Regions from separate parts of the Homo sapiens genome. Here region 1 is linked to region 2. The links are contacts of gene promoters, found by promoter capture Hi-C in human tissues and cell types (Jung and others, 2019). All regions are on one chromosome and are shown on one strand. The core of a region is centred on a gene start or on the middle of the fragment in contact, and the rest is flanking DNA. Distances in the headings are between cores, read along the strand shown.

Region 1 (5,537 bases), core at 440-2,939, 1.4 Mb before region 2:
CGCCCATGCTCCAGGTGTCAGACAGGAAAGGGTTGTAGGGCAAGCCTCGTAAGATCTCTGGGCAAGCGTAAGCAAAGCTGCCACAGTAAGTCTGGCTGAGGTGGGAAAAGCAGTTCACTTGGCGGTAAGAAGGGCTACAACCCACAGGCTGGTTAGAAGGCACCATCTTGGCAAAGCCAAAGTCTGATATCTTCACATTCTCCCACTTGTCCAGCAACAGGTTCTCCAACTTTAAGTCCCTACCAGCAGCAGAAAGGCTGGGCATCAGGCTGGGGAGAGGGCTTAGTTTTAGACTGGGAGCTGAAGGGCCAGGGGTCAGAGGGTAAAGATGAGGACAGAGGAAGTGGGAGGTAGAAACCATTATGAGGGCACAAGGTAGAGAGGAAGGAAAGCCATGGAGTTGTGAGCAGAGCCCAAAGTAGGGAGAGAGACAGAGGATGGTATCTGAGGACCACCGGGAGCTCACCATTGTATTTCATAAAATGCTTTGCATACAGTGAGTACTTTATCAGTATCCTTGACCATATGATTAAAATAGAGTGCATGAATAGGCTAGATATTGAGGAGGGAGTTCGAAAGAGGAAAAAAGGACAGGAAATGGGAGATGTGCATAAAACCCCCTTGAGGGCAAAGGCCCCAGTCTGGGTGGCAGCGCCCTCACCGGTGCACGATGCTCTTGCTGTGCAGGTAGGCAATGCCCAGGGTCAGCTGGGAGAACCACTTGCCAGCAAGGGGCTCAGAGCAGGCCCCGTAGCGCTGGATCCATTCAAGGACATCACCACCCTGAGCCAGTTCCAGAATGATGTATACTCGAGATGTGCTCTCAATGGCCCGATAGAAGTTGATGAGGTACTTGTGCCGCAAGACTTTCATTACCTGACCCCAGAAGAAGGACCCATCAAACCTGGGAAGGGAGAACCCTGACTGCACTCCCAGCCGTCTCCTACCCTCAGCTACTGACTTAGGACTTTGCAATAGGATCAGCCCCTCAACCCCAGAGAACTGGTGGCCTGTGGGCAAATGCTATGTTTTGTGCCTTTACTTTTTGGGGACTGAAGGTGAGTGGGTGGATGGGAAAGAGGTTTAACTTACATAAAGTTTCCTAGCTGCTTAGTGAGACATTTCAGTTCTGGTTTAGGGGTTTCTGGCCCCACCCCTCCTGGCCATACCCCTTCTGAGAAACCTCAAGCAGCTTAGTACCAAGCTCCAGTTCCCTCTTCCAGCCCCCTTTCCAACCTGTATTTCACGGGGCAGGAACTTGTTAAGATAGTCATCAGAGGCCTTCTTCTTTGAGATGATCTTGACTGCCACCATAACCTTCTGCTTTGTGTAGAAAGCCTCATATACCGACCCATAGGAGCCATGGCCAATGGCCTTGCCCACCTCATAACCATATTCATCCATGAGGGAATGGTAGGCTGTGGTGGTTGGTGCTGCCTCTAAGACATCTCCCTTCCCCATGGTGTTGGGCTTGCTGAGAGCAGGGAGCTTTACTACTTGGAAGCCTCCTATCCAAAGGCCAACACCTTGAGCTGCTGAAGGCTAGGGTATCAAAGTGAAGTAGGTCCCCAAATGCTTGCCTATATAGTCACACGAGTCTGGGATGCTGGACTCAGCCCTCCACTAGGAACTTGGAGGGGGAAAGAAAGAGAAGCAGTTCTTTTTGTCTCCACTGGCTGTTGTTACTTTCTCCTTTTGGTTACGGAACTCCTCAAGGTCCCATGTTCCGAATACATCACAATCCACCTCCTATCCATCGTTGGCCACAAAACTTGAGAATGAAGTGCGGCCGGGCGCGGTGGCTCACGCCTGTAATCCCAGCACTTTGGGAGGCCGAGGCGGGCGGATCACGAGGTCAGGAGATCGAGACCATCCCGGCTAAAACGGTGAAACCCCGTCTCTACTAAAAATACAAAAAATTAGCCGGGCGTAGTGGCGGGCGCCTGTAGTCCCAGCTACTTGGGAGGCTGAGGCAGGAGAATGGCGTGAACCTGGGAGGCAGAGCTTGCAGTGAGCCGAGATTGCGCCACTGCACTCCAGCCTGGGCGACAGAGCGAGACTCCGTCTCAAAAAAAAAAAAAAAAAAAAAGAGAATGAAGTGCAGTTGGAAACGTACTCATTCCCAGAGGCACCTTCCACAGTCTGGTGAAACTCCTAAAGATCAGACCTTTCATTGATATATGAGTACCTACTAAGTACCAGACACTGTGCTGAATACTTGGATAAAATGTCACCCAAATGTCATGCCAGACCCTTCCTCCTTCCTCAATCCCTACATACAATCTTTCATCAAATCCTGTCTCTGCTATCTCCTACTTATCTCTTTAATGATACACTCAAGGCTTTCCGAGCCCATTGCAGCCCCCTTAGTTCAATAAGGCCAATAGAGACACTATGATCCTAAAGCTTATAATGCAGCATGAGAAATACGAGTGTGAAAGTATTACCATTGTAAGGTATTGAACATGTTCTAGGAAAATCTAACCTTGAAATGCATCCTTATCTTCTATGAGCCAGAACTCTCTAGTTTTCCTCCACATCCTTCTGGTCACTCCTCAGCCTTCACTGAAGTTATATCTTTCTCTATCCATCCCTTAATCATATCCCAAGTGTTACATCACAAGCTTTATTTTCTCAAACCTTCACATCCTCCCTTAATCTTGTCCATACCCATGGTGTCAATACTACATTTATGCTGACTGCTCCTAATTTCATCTCCATCCCATATATCTGGAGTTTAGATAGAGCAGCCAGTATTACGTGGCCATGTCTGCCCCAGGCATGGAACTTACCATATCCATCTCAAACTTAACCATATCAATAATTGAACTTATTTTCTTCTCTCAGACTTTTCTGTGAGTTGTACACTAATCACCCTTAATTTAGACACTCATATGTCATCCCAGACCCTCCTGCCTCAGTCCCTACATTCAATCTATCACGAAATCCTATCTCTTATACCTCCTGATTCTCTCTTTGATAATATTCTCATGGTTTTCTGAGCCCACTGCTAATCCCTTAGTTCACGCCTCCATCATCGAACAGATGGCCCCCGCCAGCCTTCTGCTCCACTCCAGTCTGTCCATCCCAAGTCCAAAGCATAAATCTGATTTTATTTCCATTTGAAACAATTCAGTGTCTCCCCATTCTCTTTAGGATCAAGTCCATCCAAATTCTTTCACACAGCTTTAAGTCTGATCCTGCTTACCTCCCCAATTTTATTTTTTAACACACACGTAATGATCCACAACTGCTTTTCTGTATTTGTGGCAAACTCCAAATCTTCCTTGAGAACTTGGCATAGGACCTTTTTTCTCTTTTTTTTTTTTTGAGATGGAGTTTCGCTCTTGTTGCCCAGGCTGGAGTGCAATGGCACGATCTTGGCTCACTACAACCTCCAACTCCTGGGTTCAAGCGATTCTCCTGCCTCACCCTCCCTAGTAGCTAGGATTACAGACATGCACCACCATGCCTAGCTATTTTGTATGTTTAGTAGAGACAGGGTTTCTCCATGTTGGTCAGGCAGGTCTTGAACTCCCGACCTCAGGTGATCTGCCCACCTTGGCCTCCCAAAGTGCTGGGATTATAGGCATGAGCCACCGCGCCCCGTCTGTTTTTGTTTTGAGATGGAGTTTCGCTCTTGTTGCCCAGGCTGGAGTGCAATGGCACAATCTCGGCTCACCGCAACCTCCACCTCCCGGGTTCAAGCCATTCTCCCGCCTCAGCCTCCCGAGTAGCTGGGATTACAGGCATGCACCACCACGCCTGGCTAATTTTGTATTTTTTAGTAGAGACGGGGTTTCTCCATGTTGGTCAGGCTGGTCTCGAACTCCCAACCTCAGGTGATCTGCCTGCCTCAGCCTCCCAAAGTGCTGGGATTATAGCCGTGAGCCACCGCGCCCAGTGGAGCTGTTTTAAAGAAGGCTTAACTGACTGCTCAAGCTTCAGTTAGATATTCCTTCTTCCTGGGTGCTCCCACAGGCCCAATACTTTGTCTGTCACAGCACCTAACATAGTGTCTGTAATTGCTTCTGTTGCTTGCATCTCCCACTAAGCTATATAGGGAGGTCAAATGATGAGAAGACAGATGAAGTGTGGAGAATAGAAAAGAGCTGGTTTAGAAAATGAGCAGCATTGAGGGCCCAACTGAGGTTGGAGAACAACTTGTCCATAGACACATATAGTGTTGTGATTCTTTTAGCATCTTGGTTATAGGTACTTGAATGTTGATGGATGATTTAGGGTTTTGCTTGGCAGCTGCAATGAAACAATGGGAGAGGGGCATCAAGAACATACGCAAGAATGTGGCTGAAATGGAATGCGGAATCTAAGCTGCATGGATAAGGAAGATTATCGGGGAACCTGCCCCGATAGTCACGTAGGTTCTTTTCTATTTTCCCTAAGCGTCGGCCGGTTTGAGAAATAAAAGGACAGAGTACAAAAGAGAGAAATTTTAAAGCTGGGCATCCGGGGGAGACATCACATGTCGGTAGATTCTGTAATGCCCCACAAGCCGCAAAACCAGCAAGTTTTTATTAGGGACTTTCAAAAGGGGAGGGAGTGTACGAATAGGGTGTGGGTCACAAAGATCACGTACTTCACAAGGTAATAGAATATCAAAGGCAAAGGGAGGCAGGGCGAGATCACAGGACCGGGGCAAAATTAAAATTGCTAATGAAGTTTCGGGCACCATTGTCATTGATAACATCTTATCAGGAGACAGGGTTTTGAGAGCAACCTGTCTGACCACAATTTATTAGGTGGGAATTTCCTCTTCCTAATAAGCCTGGGAGTGCTATGGGAGACTGGGGTTTATTTCATCCCTACAGTTTCAACCATAGAAGACAGCCACACCCAAAGGGGCCATTTCAGAGACCCACCCTCAGGCACGTATTCTCTTTCCCAGGGATGTTCCTTGCTGAGAAAAAGAATTCAGCGATATTTCTCCCATTTGCTTTTGAAAGAAGAGAAATATGGCTCTGTTCCGCCTGGCTCACCGGAGGTCAGAGTTTAAGGTTATCTCTCTTGTTTCCTAAACATTGCTGTTATCCTGTTCTTTTTCAAGGTGCCCAGATTTCATATTGTTTAAACACACATGCTGTACAATTTGTGCAGTTAACGCAATTATCACAGGGTCCTGAGGCGATGTACATCCTCCTCGGTTTACGAGATGACAGGATTAAGAGATTAAAGTAAAGACAGGCATAGGAAATCACAAGGGTATTGACTGGGGAAGTGATAAGTGTCCATGAAATCTTCACAATTTATGTTTAGAGATTGCAGTAAAGACAGGCATAAGAAATTATAAAAGTATTAATTTGGGGAACTAATAAATGTCCATGAAATCTTCACAATCCACGTTCTTCTGTCATGGCTTCAGCCGGTCCCTCCGTTTGGGGTCCCTGACTTCCCGCAACAGAAGATTATATGGTTTGGATCTGTGTCCCCACCCAAATCTCATGGTCAGTTGTAATCTGCAATGTTGGAGGAGGGGCCTGGTGGGAGGTGACTGGATCATGGAGGTGGGTTTCTGATGA
Region 2 (5,096 bases), core at 1,931-4,430:
GTGATTGTGGATCCTGGCTGCCTCTCGCTGGCCCGTCACGATGAGAGGAAAAATCAGGCAGCGGGCAAAGACTGTACCTGGAAAATACAAACTAGGATTGGAGTGAAATTAAAGCAGTTCTGCAGCTAGAAGGTTGAAGGCTTTTAGGTCCTTACTGAAAGGGTCTTATTCTTGCCTTGTCCATTCTATGACTCATGCCTAAGAGGCCCAGAAATAAGGTCAGGGGAATGAATTAGTTGCTTTAAGGCTCAGTTCTCTAATTTGGCATCACAAAAGTATGGCATTAACTTCTCTAAGCAGATGATTAGGAATCCTGTTTGTTTCCTCAAACAAAAAGCTGACAGGAGTGGATTTAGCAATTATGTTACTGGCAGTTCGAATGAGGTGATATGAGTAAAAGCCAGACGGCTGAGGGAGTAAATGGAAAGAAGTAGGCTAATTGGATGCAGAGCAGTCTTTTAAGTAACAGCTATCAAAAGAATGAAACCCAGTCATCTGTGACAACGTGGATGGAACTGGAGATCACTATGTTAAGTGAAATAAGGCAAGCACAGAAAGACGAACATCGCCATGTTCTCACTTATTTGTGAGATCTAAAAATCAAAACAAATGAAATCATGGGCAGAGAGTAGAAGGAAGGTACCAGAGGCTGGGAAGGGTAGTCAGGGTTGGGAATAGTTAATGGGTAAAAAAAAGTTAGAATAAGATCTACTATTGATTGCACAACAGGGTGACTATAGTCAGTAATAATAGCATATTTTTAAATAAAGAACGTAAAAATTAGCCAGGTGTGGTGGCACACCTGTAGTCCCAGCTACTTGAGAGGCTGAGACATGAGAATCGCTAGAACCTGGGAGGTGGAGGTTGCAGTGAGCTGAGACTGCACCACTGCACTCCAGCCTGGGTGACAGAGCAAGACTCCGTTTAAAAAAATAAATAAAATAAAAAATAAAATAAAAGTGTAATTGGATTGTTTGTAACTTAAAGGATAAATGCTTAAGGGGATGGATATCTCATTCTCCATAATGTGATTATTACACCTTGCATGCCTCTATCAAAACATCTCATGTAGCCCATAAATATATACACCTACTAGGTATCCACAAAAATTAACAACAACAAAATAAATAACAGCCATCAAAGGAAGAAGATAGGATAGTAAGTGAAGGGGAACTAAGGATGAAGGGAAGAAACCTTCCCCCAGGTAACACATGGGTGTGCCTGAGCATGTTTACATGTTCGGGGTAGGGCAGTGAGGAGGGAAATGCTGAAGACACAGGGGAGAAAAGATAATTGATGGAGCAACGTGGCAGAAAGACACATAATTCAAAGCAGAGTTCTAGCCTTTACAAAAGCAATGCTAGTGGCTTCCCAATTTAGGGGTTTAAGTGCCTGACCTGAACCTCTGTTCTAAACCAGGATAGCTTCATGACTGTTAATAAGGTCCCCTGACTCTAACCCCATGTTTGTATTCAAATATCTACACTTCTTGAATCCCAGATGATCTGGTGGTTTTATAATGCTCTTTAAGAAATATAGGCAGAGTGCATCTAGGTATCATGAACCTCTATTGCTCATTTGAAATCATCTGCTCTTCTGACCCCAGAGCTTCTGCAACTACTTCCTGAATCCATTCAAAGAATTGCCATCTATGAGGTTAAATCCCTAACCCATGTCCAGGGTATATTCCCCTTACATGCAGCAATGGCCCCCCACCAAGGTAGGCCCAGATCAACATGCATAAATTCCAGTAAATTCTGGATCAGTCCCACTGGGGTGTATGACCCCAGCCCCAGTTCAGCGAAGCTCTGCTCTGCAGCAGTTTGGACTACATCTGCAGTCTCTCCAGAAGCCACCTCAGGTACTGCTGTGGGTGAGGGAGTTGCAGCAACAACAGGAGGGGCCTGAACCTGTGTGAAAGAAAGCCTTGTATTATATTTATTCAGTAGCGAACACAAAGCAAGTGAGATCTTTTTATAATAACCAGTACTGGGTTCTGTTCTCTCTACTTCTTGTTCTTCCAGGTTAGCCTAGTGTCTGCAGATTTCAAGCTTAAAAAGGACATCTCATTTTTATCAATAGTTAGGAAGAGAAGTTACTTTGAGTAAGAATCCATGACTTCCCTTCATGCTGGGAAGTTATTTCTTTTATCACTGTTTTCCAAACTTCAGCCATTTGAATATCACTATCATGATTTTTGCCATATATTAACATGAAACAATTGCTTTTCTTTAAAACAGCTCAGAAAACCAAATATAACATCTCTCCTGTTGTACTTTCAATCATTTCCCCACTGAATTGAAAATCCATCCTAAGCAGAGATGCTATCATTTTGGAGAGCTGTGTGGAGCGTGGACAAGAACTCTGCTCCATATTCCCCCTGCTCCCAAACAAAACAAAATATGAAACCAACCAGGAAACACCACTCCTAATATTGCAGGAACGAAAGGCCTCTTACCTGGACTTCTGCAAAAGAGATAGCAGAGGTACTGAGGCTGCGGGGGCCGGAAGCCGCAAGGAAGAGGTAGTGTGGGCGACAGCAGCACGGGGCTGCTGGGAATAGGAGCCGTGTGGTCAGCGGTTTCCCAAGCCATTGCGAGGGCCCTGCGACGCTGTGGACCTGAGCGTGTAAAAGGATGATGGAGCCCCTTTACCGGGAGCAGAAGTCCTCGCGTGGGTGCAAACGGGATTCATTATGCTAACTCCCCAAGAAGCAGGCAGCTCGGCCACTACAGGGGAGGACATTGCTATCACCGCGCGCAGACCGCTAGCCCGAAGGCATGCAGCGGGTGGTGCCTGCAGAGCGAAGCTCGAACCTGGGTTCCCCGCATCTCAGTTATCGCAGACCCACATCGGAGGGCCCTGAGAACGAGGCCGAGGTGCTCTCGCCAGGAGCCAAGCCAATTCCAGAAGCTGACACCGGGCTGCTGGGCCCATAGTGTCGGGGACTAACCCTAGCGCGTCCTCACATGACCCGAGGTCATGACATTCAGGTCCCGGTGAGCAGGTCAGCGTCTGCTGATACCCCTAGCACGAGCTGTCCTGGGGCCTGGTTCACTGGGTCAGGGCAGCATCCCGGTGCTCTGCCCCGGGGCATCCTTACCCGACGCCCGGACTGTAGCAAGCGCAGAAGCTCCCGGCGTCCGCACATTAGTCCCATCGCCATTTTGCCCGGAAGAGGACTTGCTTTTGCGCCTGCGCAGTAAGAACCACAACCCCTCGAGAGGAAGCACTTTTGGAGGCGGGCATGAAGCCAGAATTGTAGCCGCAGATCAGGCGGTAAAAGAGAACGGAGCTTGGCGGCCATATTTGAAGTGGGTAAAAATCTGTAAAGCCACGTTACCATTAGCACGCAGAGAGCCTTTTCTGGAGATTGAAAGGAAGTTGAAGAGCTGGGTTAGCTATCATCGTAAGCTATCATCGTTAGTGATGGCGTAAACCTGGGTAATTTTCCTCTAATGTCGCGATTGTCCTCTGATTTGTAAGTTTAAAAATAGCCTCAGAAAAGGCTTGGCTGTACTTGCAGAGGATTTTTCCCACTCAATGATGTTCGATTCTTTTGATTCTTATTGCTAGGTAATATTGTAATCGCAGGTCCAGTGAAATTTGAGGGTAGTCTAGAGTCTGACAGAAATTAAAAGAAGGCAGCTTCTGGGAAATATTTTCCTCCCAGATAAAAAGACGAAGCTTCCAGAGGAGACTTCACCTTTCCATTTTTTTCTTCTGTAAGTGGGGTGGTGTGAGGACTGACCATGAGGGGACAAGTTTCCAGATGAAAAGCTCACGTGCAGGCCGGGCGCGGTGGCTCAGGTCTGTAATCCCAGTACTTTGGGAGGCCGAGGTGGGTGGATCACGAGATCAGGAGGTCGAGACCATCCTGGCCAACATGGTGAAACCCCATTTCTACTAAAAATACAAAAATTAGCCGGGCGTGGTGGTGGGCGCCTGTAATCCCAGCTACTCGGGAGGCTGAGGCAGGAGAATCACTTGAACCCGGGATGCAGAGGTTGCAGTGAGCCGGGATTGTGCCACTGCACTCCAGCCTGGGCAACAAGAGCGAGACTCCGTCTCAAAAAAAAAAAAAAAAAGGAAAGAAAAACTCACGTGCTGAAGATGGTTGAGGGCAAAGATAGAAAACACCCAAATACTTGATGATATCATTGAGCTGCTGTACCATGCTTGGAACTGCCTATCTCCAGACTTTGTTGTGTAAGTTAATTAAAGGTCTTGGCCGGGTGCAGTGGCTCATACCTGTAATCTCATCACTTTGGGAGGCTGAGGTGGTCTCGATAACTAGGTCAAGAGATCGAGACCAGCCTGGCCAACATGGTGAAATCCTGTCTCTACTAAAAATACAAAAAACAAAAAAACAAAATAACTAGGCGGGCGTGGTGGTGCATACCTGTAGTCCCAGCTACTAGGGAGGCTGAGGCAGGAGAATCGCTTGAATCCGGGAGGTGGAGGTTGCAGTGAGCCGAGGTGGAGCCACCTCACTCTAGCCTGGGCGACAGACTCCATCTCAAAAAAAAAAAAAAAAAGATGATTAAAGGTCTTTACTGTTTAGACTCTAAGTCTGTTGCTTGGGTGTTCTGTTTCTTGAAGTTAAAAGCATTCATCTTCAGGGAAAAAAGTTACTGGTCAGAAAGGTGGAGTTTGATTATGTTTGAACCCTTACAAAGTCTCTCAATATGCAGATTACTTTCTAAACAACAAATTATAGTTTCAGAAAGATACAATAACCTGAAATTATTTCAGTGACTGCTCATTTGGAACGATTATGAATGTACCTGACAGATATGGCGAAAATAGGAGGCAAAGAACTATAATACTGATTTAGTAATAATTAGTGGTATGAGCTAACACTTGCATATGTTGGATGCTATTATAAACATCAATAGATTTTTGATATGGAAACACTGATTTTTTTTTAGAGATTACTTTTAAAACTCAATACAATTAGAAGTAATTACAAATATACAGCTACAGAACACTTGGCAGGGTGACTATCTTACAGTACACTGCTACTTTGGTGGCCCCAAATGAACCAGGCTTCCCAATATTTGCACCTTTAGGAGTTCTCTTCTCTTGAGTCTGAT

Evidence for each region. The method cuts DNA at HindIII sites, captures the fragments that hold promoters and counts their contacts. A contact is called where the count stands out against the background at its distance.
Region 1: a contact is called between the fragment with the promoter of TSSK4 here and the fragment with the promoter of OXA1L in region 2, in 1 of the 25 tissues and cell types used here (aorta).

Annotation. Positions count from the first base shown.
Region 1 is chr14:24,201,848-24,207,384 of GRCh38, reverse strand. TSSK4 (testis specific serine kinase 4) reads right to left here and starts at 1,689. Exons shown (of 4, transcript NM_001184739.2): 1 at 1,237-1,689; 2 at 662-876; 3 at 1-269. The coding sequence starts at 1,461. RefSeq lists enhancers at 3,158-4,056, 4,057-4,955, 4,162-5,361. The HindIII fragment of the contact is 2,603 bases long and covers 681-3,283 here.
Region 2 is chr14:22,764,772-22,769,867 of GRCh38, reverse strand. It overlaps OXA1L (OXA1L mitochondrial inner membrane insertase), which reads right to left and starts at 3,180. Exons shown (of 10, transcript NM_005015.5): 1 at 3,104-3,180; 2 at 2,459-2,620; 3 at 1,697-1,910; 4 at 1-77. The coding sequence starts at 3,166. OXA1L-DT (OXA1L divergent transcript) reads left to right here and starts at 3,306. Exons shown (of 3, transcript XR_001750638.3): 1 at 3,306-3,444. RefSeq lists enhancers at 3,072-3,301, 2,895-3,458, 3,459-4,021, 4,022-4,585. The HindIII fragment of the contact is 11,434 bases long and covers 1-5,096 here.